Regions from separate parts of the Homo sapiens genome. Here region 2 is linked to region 1. The links are contacts of gene promoters, found by promoter capture Hi-C in blood cells and fetal thymus (Javierre and others, 2016). All regions are on one chromosome and are shown on one strand. Each heading gives the region's core, a stretch centred on a gene start or on the middle of the fragment in contact. The rest is flanking DNA. Distances are from core to core; before and after follow the strand shown.

What was found. The method cuts DNA at HindIII sites, captures the fragments that hold promoters and counts their contacts. A CHiCAGO score of 5 or more calls a contact.
Region 2: a fragment that was not itself captured here is called in contact with the fragment with the promoter of AP3S2 in region 1 in 2 of 17 cell types (M0 macrophages and M1 macrophages); the score reaches 8.0 in M0 macrophages.

What each region holds. Positions count from the first base shown.
Region 1 is chr15:89,891,679-89,897,084 of GRCh38, reverse strand. AP3S2 (adaptor related protein complex 3 subunit sigma 2) reads left to right here and starts at 3,091. Exons shown (of 6, transcript NM_005829.5): 1 at 3,091-3,204. The coding sequence starts at 3,136. All of the region lies in intron 5 of ARPIN-AP3S2 (ARPIN-AP3S2 readthrough), which reads left to right. It overlaps ARPIN (actin related protein 2/3 complex inhibitor), which reads left to right. Exons shown (of 6, transcript NM_182616.4): 6 at 1-2,079. RefSeq lists enhancers at 1,809-2,556, 2,911-3,060, 4,053-4,802. The HindIII fragment of the contact is 43,116 bases long and covers 1-5,406 here.
Region 2 is chr15:90,094,282-90,099,378 of GRCh38, reverse strand. The region is part of intron 1 of IDH2 (isocitrate dehydrogenase (NADP(+)) 2); the gene reads left to right. Among named protein-coding and RNA genes, the nearest start is that of IDH2-DT, 5.3 kb to the left of the region's middle. RefSeq lists an enhancer at 3,429-3,953. The HindIII fragment of the contact is 4,798 bases long and covers 1-4,024 here.

The DNA of each region.
Region 1 (5,406 bases), core at 1,842-4,341:
TTATATAGTTCTCTTAATTCCCCACCTCTAACTATATTTTTGGGTTATTTCTTTAGGAACAGATGCCCAGGAGTCATATTACTGAGAATCTAGAAATCTTTTGCAAAGTTCTTGTTATATTGCCAAATTGCTTCCCAAAAGGGTTGTTCTAAACCATAATTTCACCAGCAATGTAGGGGAGAACCATTTTTATGCTGCCCTTGTGAGAATTGGGTATGAAAACATTTTTAAAATGATTTTTGATGAGGTGAAAATAATATTTGAATATATTTTAATTTGCCTTTCCCCCACTTATAGTGAGCTTAAACATTTTTTCCTTTTCCTAGCTGTATTTCTCCCTTTGTTATTCGTTCTTTCGTCCATTTATCTACTGGGGAGATGGGGAGTGTTATCTTTTTAGTTTATCAGTTATTTGCATTTTAAATATAACCATTTGCCATATTTTAACAACGATTTTTCCATTAAATAATTCTTTTTATAAAAAAACTTTATATATCTGTTGATGTTTTGTGATTTTTATTGCTTCTAAGCTAATACAGATTTTTGGATCTTATTCAATTTCGCTTTCTTCTGTTTAGGTTATTATCTGGTTTTATACCTAACTACTTATTTTCAAATTGCTAACCAGTTATCCTAATAGTATTTACTGAATTCCTTCCCACTCCTACATCACATATTAAAATTATTTTATGCCTAAATTATTTATAATATTTCAGTTATTCTTCCTATAATTACAATTTGAACCATCAAAGTAGGTTTTCATAGTTGGCAGAGCTAGTTCTTCTTCATAATTCTGTTTCAGAATTTTCTTTGATATTCTTCCTCAACATTTTAAACATTTTGTCAAGTTTCAGTGCAACTGACTTTTGGTTTTTATTTATTTAAAAACTGGGCCATGCCGGGCGCAGTGGCTCACGCCTGTAATCCCAGCACTTCGGGAGACTGAGATGGGTGAATCACTTGAGGTCAGGAGTTTGAGACCAGACTGGCCAATGTGGTGAAACCCCATCTCTACTAAAAATACAAAAATTTGCTGGGCATGGTGGCATGTGCCTGTAATCCCAGCTACTGGGGAGGCTGAAGCAGGAGAATTGTTTGAACCCGGGAGACGGAGGTTGCAGTGAGCCAAGATTGTGCCACTGCACTCCAGCCTGGGCAACAGAGTGAGACTCCATCTCAAACAAACAAACAAACAAACAAACAAAAAACTGGACTAGGCGTGGTGGCGGTTTGGGAGACTGAGGCTGGAGGATTGCCTGAGGCCAGCAGTTTGAGGTTACAGTGAGGTATGACTGTGCCACTGCACTCCAACCTGGGTAAGACCCTATCTCTGAAAAACAAACAAGCAAACCCCAGAACTCTGGCTGCAAAAGTAGTACATATTTCTTTGAAGGAAAAAAAGGAAAACTTGATAATCCTACCACCCAAAGATGTTTTTAAATCACTTATGTGGTACTCAGTTATGTGCCATGCACTGTCCAAGTGCTTACAAATATTATACTAACTCCCTTTGTGTTTATAACAACTGTCTGAAGTCAGTAGACTCATTTTCCAGTTTTCCAGTTTAGGAAACTGATATTACACCTTTTCTACAGATGGGGAAACTTGCCCAGGGTGCCCAGGCAGTCCGCAGAACCATGCTTTGAATCAGGGCAGTGTGGTTCCAGGGTCCTGTACAGATCAAACACCCTGACTCTGCCATTCCATCAGATACATGATTCATATTTTGGTGTATTTGCCTCCAATCTTGAGCAAAGTGGGTTGTCCCTGTACATACTTTGTGTAATCTTTTAGCTTAACAGGTGTCATGAACACTTCCGTATCATAAATCTTTCCCAGCATGATTTTTATTATCTATTTAATATTTCTCATATTCAATGTAGAACAATGCACTTAACCAATTTCTCATTTTTGTAATAATTTTCTTCCCATTTTCCCCTGTAATAACACTGCTGAGATATATATTTTTTTCTTCTTTTTTTTACTGTTCTGAAGATACTCTGGCAGAAATGTATGTTCCTCAGGCTAAATCTTTTCACACATCCACAATCATTTTATCATAAATTCTAGAGCTGGAAACGCTGAGTCTAATGTTTTATATATATATATATATATGTTATATATCTGTCACCCAGGCTGGAGTGCAGTGTGGTGTGATCTCAGCTCACTGCAACCTCCGCCTCCCGGGTTCAAGCCATTCTCCTGCCTCAGTCTCCCAAGTATCTGGGACTACAGGCGCGCGCCACCACAACCGGCTAATTTTTGTAATTTTAGTAGAGGCGGGGTTTCACCTTGTTGGCCAGGCTGGTCTCGAACTGCTGACCTCAAGTGAGCCGCCCGCCTCGGCCTCCCAAAGTGCTGGGATTACAGGCGTGAGCCACCGCGCCCGGACTGTTATATATTTTAAAGGCTTCTGATCCATATCGCCAAACAGTCCTCTGGATCGATTTGCATCTGTATCCGCTGCTCCATCTGCAGTATACGGACATGCTCCACTTCACCCACACTGGGTCATTAAAAGAACAAACAAAAATAAGAACTTGATCGATTTGGGATTTTAAATGGAAATGCACTAAAAATTCCTTAATTCCACCATTCACCGTCTACCATAGAGGAACAGCCCATCTGCACGGAGAGACAGCTACGTAATTCACTGCAGCATTATAATACTGAAAAATTAAAATGAACGAAATGTTCCATAACCGACGAACGGCCGAATGACCGGCGTCTCCACTCCGCGGAACGTTCTGCGAGCGCTAAGGGGATGGCGGGAGTGCATGATTTGGAGCGGGCGGTGAGAAAAGCAAGCTCCCGCCGCCTCTCCGTTTTGGCAACCCGGCTGACGGTCGTTTCGGCTTCTGGGGCCAGCCGTCGGTCTGGGCGAGGGACATAGATCCGGATTCGCATCCTGACTGGCCAACCAACGCTGGCCGAGGTGACCACTCTCCTCGGCATCCGCACCTGCCCTCCAAGGCGTCAGAGAGGCCGGACCCTTGGGTGCTAGGGCTCGTGAGCGCCGGGGCCAAGTTTCCGAGTGCCGCTCTCAGCAGCGCACCAACCGGAAGTGATCGTGTTGTGGCGGAAGGAGGAGCTTTCTGGGAGTAGCCGGTGCTGAGAGAACCGTGGCTGGCAAAGATGATTCAGGCGATTCTGGTTTTCAACAACCATGGGAAGCCACGGCTAGTCCGCTTCTACCAGCGTTTCGTGAGTGCGGCCCGGCTTCACCACGCCCCTTCAGGGCGCCCACTATGTCTTCCCTCCTCTTTGGCCTCTCGGCGCCCGGGGGCACCGCTCTTTGGTCACCTGGGGCTCCTGCACCGAGCATGACCCTCGCCCTACTTAAGCATTTAATCTAGGCGCAGGCTGGTGCCAGGCCTTCTGTCTCCCGCCCTACTGCCCCGCTCTCGCTGACCCTTTTCTTGATCCTGGCATTTCTGTGCCATTTTGTGACATTTTCCCGTGGGTCTCTGGGAACGAGATAGAAGCGACAGTGGGGAGTGTGCCTCGATGAGAACTTGAGTGATTGAAGTCACATTCTGTCATCTTTTTGGTTGTTGACCACAGTTTCATGAGGAAGAAATATTAAGTTTCTGAAAGTTTTTGTTATAGCCAGAACTGGAAAAGTTCTTTTTTTTTTGGAATTATTTTGCTTCAGTGTTGGCTGGGACTTTCCAGAGACTAGATACCCTTCACTCTTAGGGTTGAAGAAAATCAGTTTAAAAGTGGAAAAATGATGAGAAATTATAAATGCTGCCGCATAAGGGCTCAATAAGTGATTACGTAAATTTGAATTTTCCCAACACGTTCCTTTGCAAACACATAAACATCAGTATTTGCTTCCTGTCTTCGAAGATTATATTTCTTCATGGCAGGGTTTCAAAATGTTACATAATTGGGGGACTGGTGGAACTGAAGAGGGGAAAGAGCCAGAAAACGTGTTCAGGCTTCAGCTCCACCTTTTCTACTCTTGCGTCTGTTGACAAGTTAATAAACCCTTTTCAGACTTTTATTGTCTTTTGTCAATTAGAAATGAAAAAATAATTTTACTCCTTCATAAGATTTTTAAAGCTAGATTACATTTTATTAAGTAGATTACATCGAGGTAAAAATATGAGTATTCAGGCCGGGCGCGGTGGCTCACGCCTGTAATCCCAGCACTTTGGGAGGCCGAGGCGGGCGGATCACGAGGTCAGGAGATGGAGACCATCCTGGCTAACACGGTGAAACCCCGTCTCTACTAAAAATACAAAAAATTAGCCAAGCGCGGTGGCGGGCACCTCCAAGTCCCAGCTACTCAGGAGGCTGAGGCAGGAGAATGGCGTGAGCCCGGGAGGCGGAGCTTGCAGTGAGCCAAGATAGCGCCACTGCACTCCAGCCTGGGCGAAAGAGCGAGACTCCATCACACACACACACAAAAAAGTATATATATATATGTATGTATATGAGTATTCAGCGTAACTATTTGTATTTGCATTTGTGTGTATGCAAATTTCCCCCCTAGTTTTTTTCTAACAGGGTTACTGAGATAAAACTAACATGCCATACTGTTTACTTATTTATTTTATGTTATTTACTTATAGAGACGGGGTCTTTCTATGTTGCCCAGGCTGGTCTTGAACTCCTGGGCTCAAGCAATCCACCGGACTCAGCCTCCCAAAGTGCTGGGATTACAGGCATGAGCCACTGTGTCCGGCCCCAGTTTACTTATTTAAAGGGGACAATTCAGTGTTTTTTAGCATGTTCACAGAAGCTGTGTAACCATCACCACAATCAATTTTAGATCATTTTCATCACCCCAAAAAGAAACCTCTGCCCATTAGCAGTCACTCCCTATTTCTCCATGACTCTCCCAGCCCCAGAGAGTTTCTTTCCCTCTAAATTTGCCAGTTCCAGAATGGCAAATGGAATTTGCCTATTCCGTTGCCTATAAATGGAATCATAAATAAGTGGTTTTTTGTGTGTCTGCCATGTTTCATGTAGTATAATGTTTTCAAGATTCATCCATGTTGTAGCATGTATCTGATGTTCTTCATTTCTTTTATTGCTGAATAATATTCCATTATATGGATATGCCATATTTTGATTGTCAATTTATAAGTTGATATTTCTGCTTTTTGGCTCTTCTAATTAATGCTGCTATGAACATTCTTGTGCAAGTTTTTATGTGGACTTATGACTTCATTTCTCTTGGTTATATACCTAGGAGTAGAATTGCTGGATCATATGGTAACTGTGGTGAACATTTTGAGAAACTGCAAACTATTTGACAAATTTTCCAAGTGGCTGCACCATTTTACATTTCCATCAGCAATGTATAATGATTCCAGTTTCTTCACATCCCTGCCATTCGTTATTTATTTATTTATTTTTGGTTAAAGACATTTTAGTGGGTGTAAAGTGGTATCT
Region 2 (5,097 bases), core at 376-2,875, 200 kb before region 1:
TGAGGAGGGGAGGAAGCAGGCCATTTTCGGTATTGGGGGAAGAGGGACTCGCAGGTGCCAAGGGCATGATGGAAGAGCAGAGAGGATGGTGCGAAGGCTGGCTCAGCAGGCACCAGGTGGAGTGACAGGATGAGGTTCGGCAGTGGGGTCTGTAGAGGGCTCACAGGCCATTTTTGAGAGCTTTCGCTTTTACTTTGCAGGGTTTTGAGAGGAGTATCGTTACCTGATTTCCATCTTATCGGGAGCATTCTAGCTTCAGGGACCTGGCAAGAGAGGATGATGGCTTGGACCTGGGTGGTGGCGCTGGGGATGGTGAAGAAGTGGTTGGATTCTGGATATATTTTGAAGGAGGAGCCAGTAGTGGGGAAAGGTTCCAATTCAGGCGATTTTACATAAAAATCTAGATACGCAGCAGGCACTCACTTATGGCAAGGGTGGGCTTGTCTGAGGGTGGCTTCTGGTTTTGGTGGTTTGGATGTGAGAGAAGGGAAGGAATGAAGGATGACACCAAGGAGTCTACTAGAGTTTGTTCCAAAATGGCTGTTCTGGCCGCGTGCGGTGGCTCCCAGGACTTTGGGAGGCCGAAGCAGGCGGATCAGTTGGGGCCAGGAGTTCGAGACCTGCCTGGCCACCATGGTGAAACCCGGTCTCTACTAAAAATACAAAAATTAGCTGGGTGTGGTGGCAGGCGCCTGTAGTCCCAGCTACTCAGGGGCTGAGGCAGGAGAATTGCCTGAACCCAGGAGGTGGAGCTTGCAGTGAGCCGAGATCACGCCACTGCCCTCCAGTGTAGGCGACAGAGTGAGACTCTGTCTCAATACATACATACATACATACATACATACATGCATGCATACATACATACATACATACATAAAATATACAAAGTTGCTGTCCTGCCTTCTTGAGCCCCCAGGAATTGGAACCTTTCCCCACTCTCTGATCTTTTGCTGGGACATGCTGACTGAGCAGCCTTTCTGCTGAGAGCATGGGTAGGAATGTGGAGGGAGCAGTTATGCCTGGGGCTGGCTGCCTGCGGCTGGACCTCTAGCCTCCTGCTGGGAGCAGCAAGAAGCCAGGGATGTGTTTTGAAATCCTTACTTGGTATTGGGTGCTAGGAGCCCCAGACAGGGAGGAGAGTCAGCCTAACGTGCCTCTGGTGACTGGTGTAATTCCATCCTGCACTCTCGCCAAGAGGACAGTGTTTGTGCAATGCATCAGCTGAAGATTCGTGGTGGCTGTCACTTCGGAGGTTTTCAGGGAGGCCTAGCTGCTGCTCTGTGTATTTCAGGTAGCTTGTCACCACTTATCTCTCAGAGAAGGGCAGACCATGGCTGTATCTCCACCATACAGGCTGAACAGCAGACAGGGGTCTCAAACTCCAGTGCCCTGGGCCACACTGGAGGGCACTTGGCTGTCATGGAGTGAAGGGAGAGGCCGCCTTCAGCCCAGCCCATCCTTGCCATGAGTGAGTGCCTGCTGCATTTCTAGATTTTTATATAAAATCTCCTGATTTTTTTTGACTGGTTTAAATTTTTATTATTTTGGTAAAAAACGTATAAAACTTACCATCTTAGTCATTGTTCAGTGTACAGTATTGTTAAGTACATTCGCACTGTTGTGCAGACATTACCACCATCCATCACCAGAACTTTGTCACCTTGCAAAACCGAAACTCTCTACCCATGAAACAATACCTCCCCACTTCCCGTCCCCAGTCCCTGGCAGCCACCTTTTTACTTTCTGTTTCTATGAATTTGACTATTCTAGGTACCTCATGTAAGTAGAAGCATATAGTATTTGTCTTTTGTGACTGGTTTATTTCACTTAGTTAGCATAATGCCCCCCAGGTTCATCCACTTTGTAGCAGGTGTCAGAATTTCCCTTCTTTTCAAGGCTGAATCATATTCCATTGTATGTAGATAACAGTAGTCCCCCTTATCCTTGGAGGATGCATTTCAAGATCCCCAGTGGATACCTGAAACTGCAAAGCCTGTAGATACTATGTTTTTTTCCTATACATACAGATCTATGATAAAGTTTAATTTATGAATTAGGAACAGTAAGAGATTAGCAATAATAACTAGTAATAAAATAGAACAATTATAACAATATACTGTAATGAAAGTTACATGAATGTGATCTCTTAAAATATCTTACTGTACTGTACTCACCTATTTTCAGACTATGGTTGACTGTGGGTAACTGACACCACAGGTAACTGACGTCATGGAAATAAAACCTTTGATAAGGGGGGACTGTATCACATTGTCTTTATCCATTCATCTGTGATGGACACGTGGGTTGCTTCTATCTTTTGCTGTTGTGAACATTGCTGCTATGAATGTGGGCATACATATATCTCTTTCAGACCCCGCTTTCGATATTTTTGGATGTATATACAGAAGCAGAATTGCTGGATCATATAGTAATTCTTGTCCTTTTCTTTTCTTTTTTTTTTTCGAGACGGAGTCTTGCTCTCTTTCGCCCATGCTGGAGTGCAGTGGCGCGATCTCAGCTCACTGCAAGCTCCGCCTCCCGGGTTCATGCCATTCTCCTGCCTCAGCCTCCCCAGTAGCTGGGACTACAGGCGCCTGCCACCACGCCTGGCTAATTTTTTGTATTTTTAGTAGAGTCAGGGTTTCACTGTGTTAGCCAGGATGGTCTCGATCTTCTGACCTCGTGATCCACCCGCCTCAGCCTTCCACAGTGCTGGGATTACAGGTGCGAGCCACCGTGCCCGGCAGTAATTCTTTTCCTTTTAGCTAAGGAACACCCATACTGTTTTCCACAGCAGCTGCACCATTTCACATTCCCACCAACAGGGCACAAGAGTTCCAATTTCTCCACATCCTTGCTAGCACTTTATTTTCTGTTTTGTTTTTCTTTTCCTGATAGTAGCTCTCTTAGTGGTTGTGAGGGGATAGTGGGGTGATATCTCATTATGGTTTTGATTTGCATTTCCCTGATGATTAGTGATGTTGAGCATCTTTTCATGTGCTTGTTGGCCATTTGTATATCATCTTTGGACTTGAAATGTCTATTTAAGTCTTTTGTCCATTATATTTATTTATTTATTTTGAGATGGAGTCTTCCTGTTACCCAGGCTGGAGTGCAGTGGCATGATCTCTGCTCACTGCAACCTCCACCTCCTGGGTTCAAGCAATTCTCCTGCCTCAGCCTCCCAAATAGCTGGGACTACAGGTGTGTGTCACCACACCAGGCTAATTTTTTTTCTATTTTTAGTAGACACAGAGTTTCACCATTGTGGCCAGGCTGGTCTCGAACTCCTGACCTCAAGTGATCTGCCCTCTTCAGCCTTCCAAAGTGCTGGGATTACAGGCATGAGCCACGGTGCCCAGCCAGTCTTCTGTCCATTTTAACGTTGAGTTATTTGTTTTATTGTTGAGATTTACTGATTTTTAAAACTTGGTCACCAATTAAGATTTTTTTAAAAAACCAGTACCTGGAACAAGCAGAACAAGTCTCTGCTGGCCTTGGCTCATGTTGCTGTTCTCAGTTCCCCTGGGATGTTTGCTTCCAGGGAGGCCTGGGCACTCCTGACTTTGGTGACAGCCCTGCTTGCTCTCTCTCTGTTACCTGTAGGTTTCCCCTTCCACATTCACTGCCTCCGGGCAGGCACTGTTGTGTTTTAGGCATTTCAGTATCCCAGTGGGGTACTGGATAAGTGCTTAGTTAGCACCTGCCGGTGAGTAAATAATCAGGTCCTGTGGTCTCTGAGGGTTTGACACATCAGGTCTTTGATCTTGACCTTGAACTCTCCTAGCCATGCCTGCCTGAAGCCCAACCGTGGAGCCCAGGCTGAGGCTGAAACCTGAAGAACTGGCCCCAAGTGAGTCTCTCCTTAGGGCTCCTGATTATGATAGTTCATTTTTTTTTTTTTTTAACAAATTTGATTAGCTGTCCTCAAATTAACTCATAGGAGATGCTCCCCAGAACTAAACTAGCTCTGCAACAGCTCAACAGACTTTCCGCAGGTTCTGCAGCTCTTTCCACTCAAGCTTCAGAAAAAAGTGAAGGAATATTGTAGATTGGGTTCAAAATCCCCATCGCGTCTTGGGAAAGGCAGTAGAGCCAGCAGCCAGCCACCTTTTGTTCTCTAGGGAATGGAATAGTCCAAGGCTGTGTTTGTGTTCTGCTTCTCTACATCTGACCCACGGGTCTTCCAGAGGCTGCATTTGGGTCAGGGACCTGGGCTCTATCTTGCCTCTGATGCAGACCACACTCTCTGAGTCTCATTATTCCCCCTAAATGATCTCTAAGATTATTTTTAGATTAAAAAAAAAAAACAAACTCTTTGCATATCTTTGGAAAGTCAGTTGTTTGAGGTCTGTTAGGCTTTAATCACTTTTGTTTTAAATGTGCCGAGGTGGTTTCTAGGCCTGCTTTTCACAGGTATTCTGTCCCTTGTCAGTTCTTCCCACCCAGTTTTTTTTGTTTGTTTGTTTGTTTTTTTGAGATGGAGTCTCGTTCTGTTGCCCAGGCTGGAGTGCAGTGCCGTGATCTTGGCTTACTGCAACCTCCACCTCCCGGGTTCAAGCGATTCTCCTGCCTCAGCCTCCTCGGTAGCTGGGATTATAGGCACGTGCCACCATGCCTAATTTTTCTATTTTTAGTAGAGATGGGGTTTCACCATGTTGGCCAGGCTGGTCTTGAACTCCTTACCTTGAGTGATCCACCTGCCTCAGCCTCCCAAAGTGCTAGGATTACAGGCATGAGCCATTACACCCAGCCCCAACCCAGTGTTTTCAAATAATCATTCTCTTCCCTTCACCTGATTTGCTGTGTCTAATCTAGAGTGGAGCTGAAGACACATCACCACCTCTCTAAGGACTGTGTGTAACACAAGAGTAATTGGGCTGTAAGTGAGGCTGAGGAGTGCTGCTTTGAGGAAAGGGCACAGCTCTCAGCTGAGCTGGTGAGATTTCCCTGTGACTGAAGTTTTATTAGATCTTGTTCCCTGCTCTGCATTTGCTGCTTCTTCCCAGGCTGTGGGCAGAGGAGCAGGCTGGTGCCCCGGTGCCCCTATCTGCTGCAGGCTGAGGTTCAACAAGCCTTGTCCAAGGCAGCTGTACT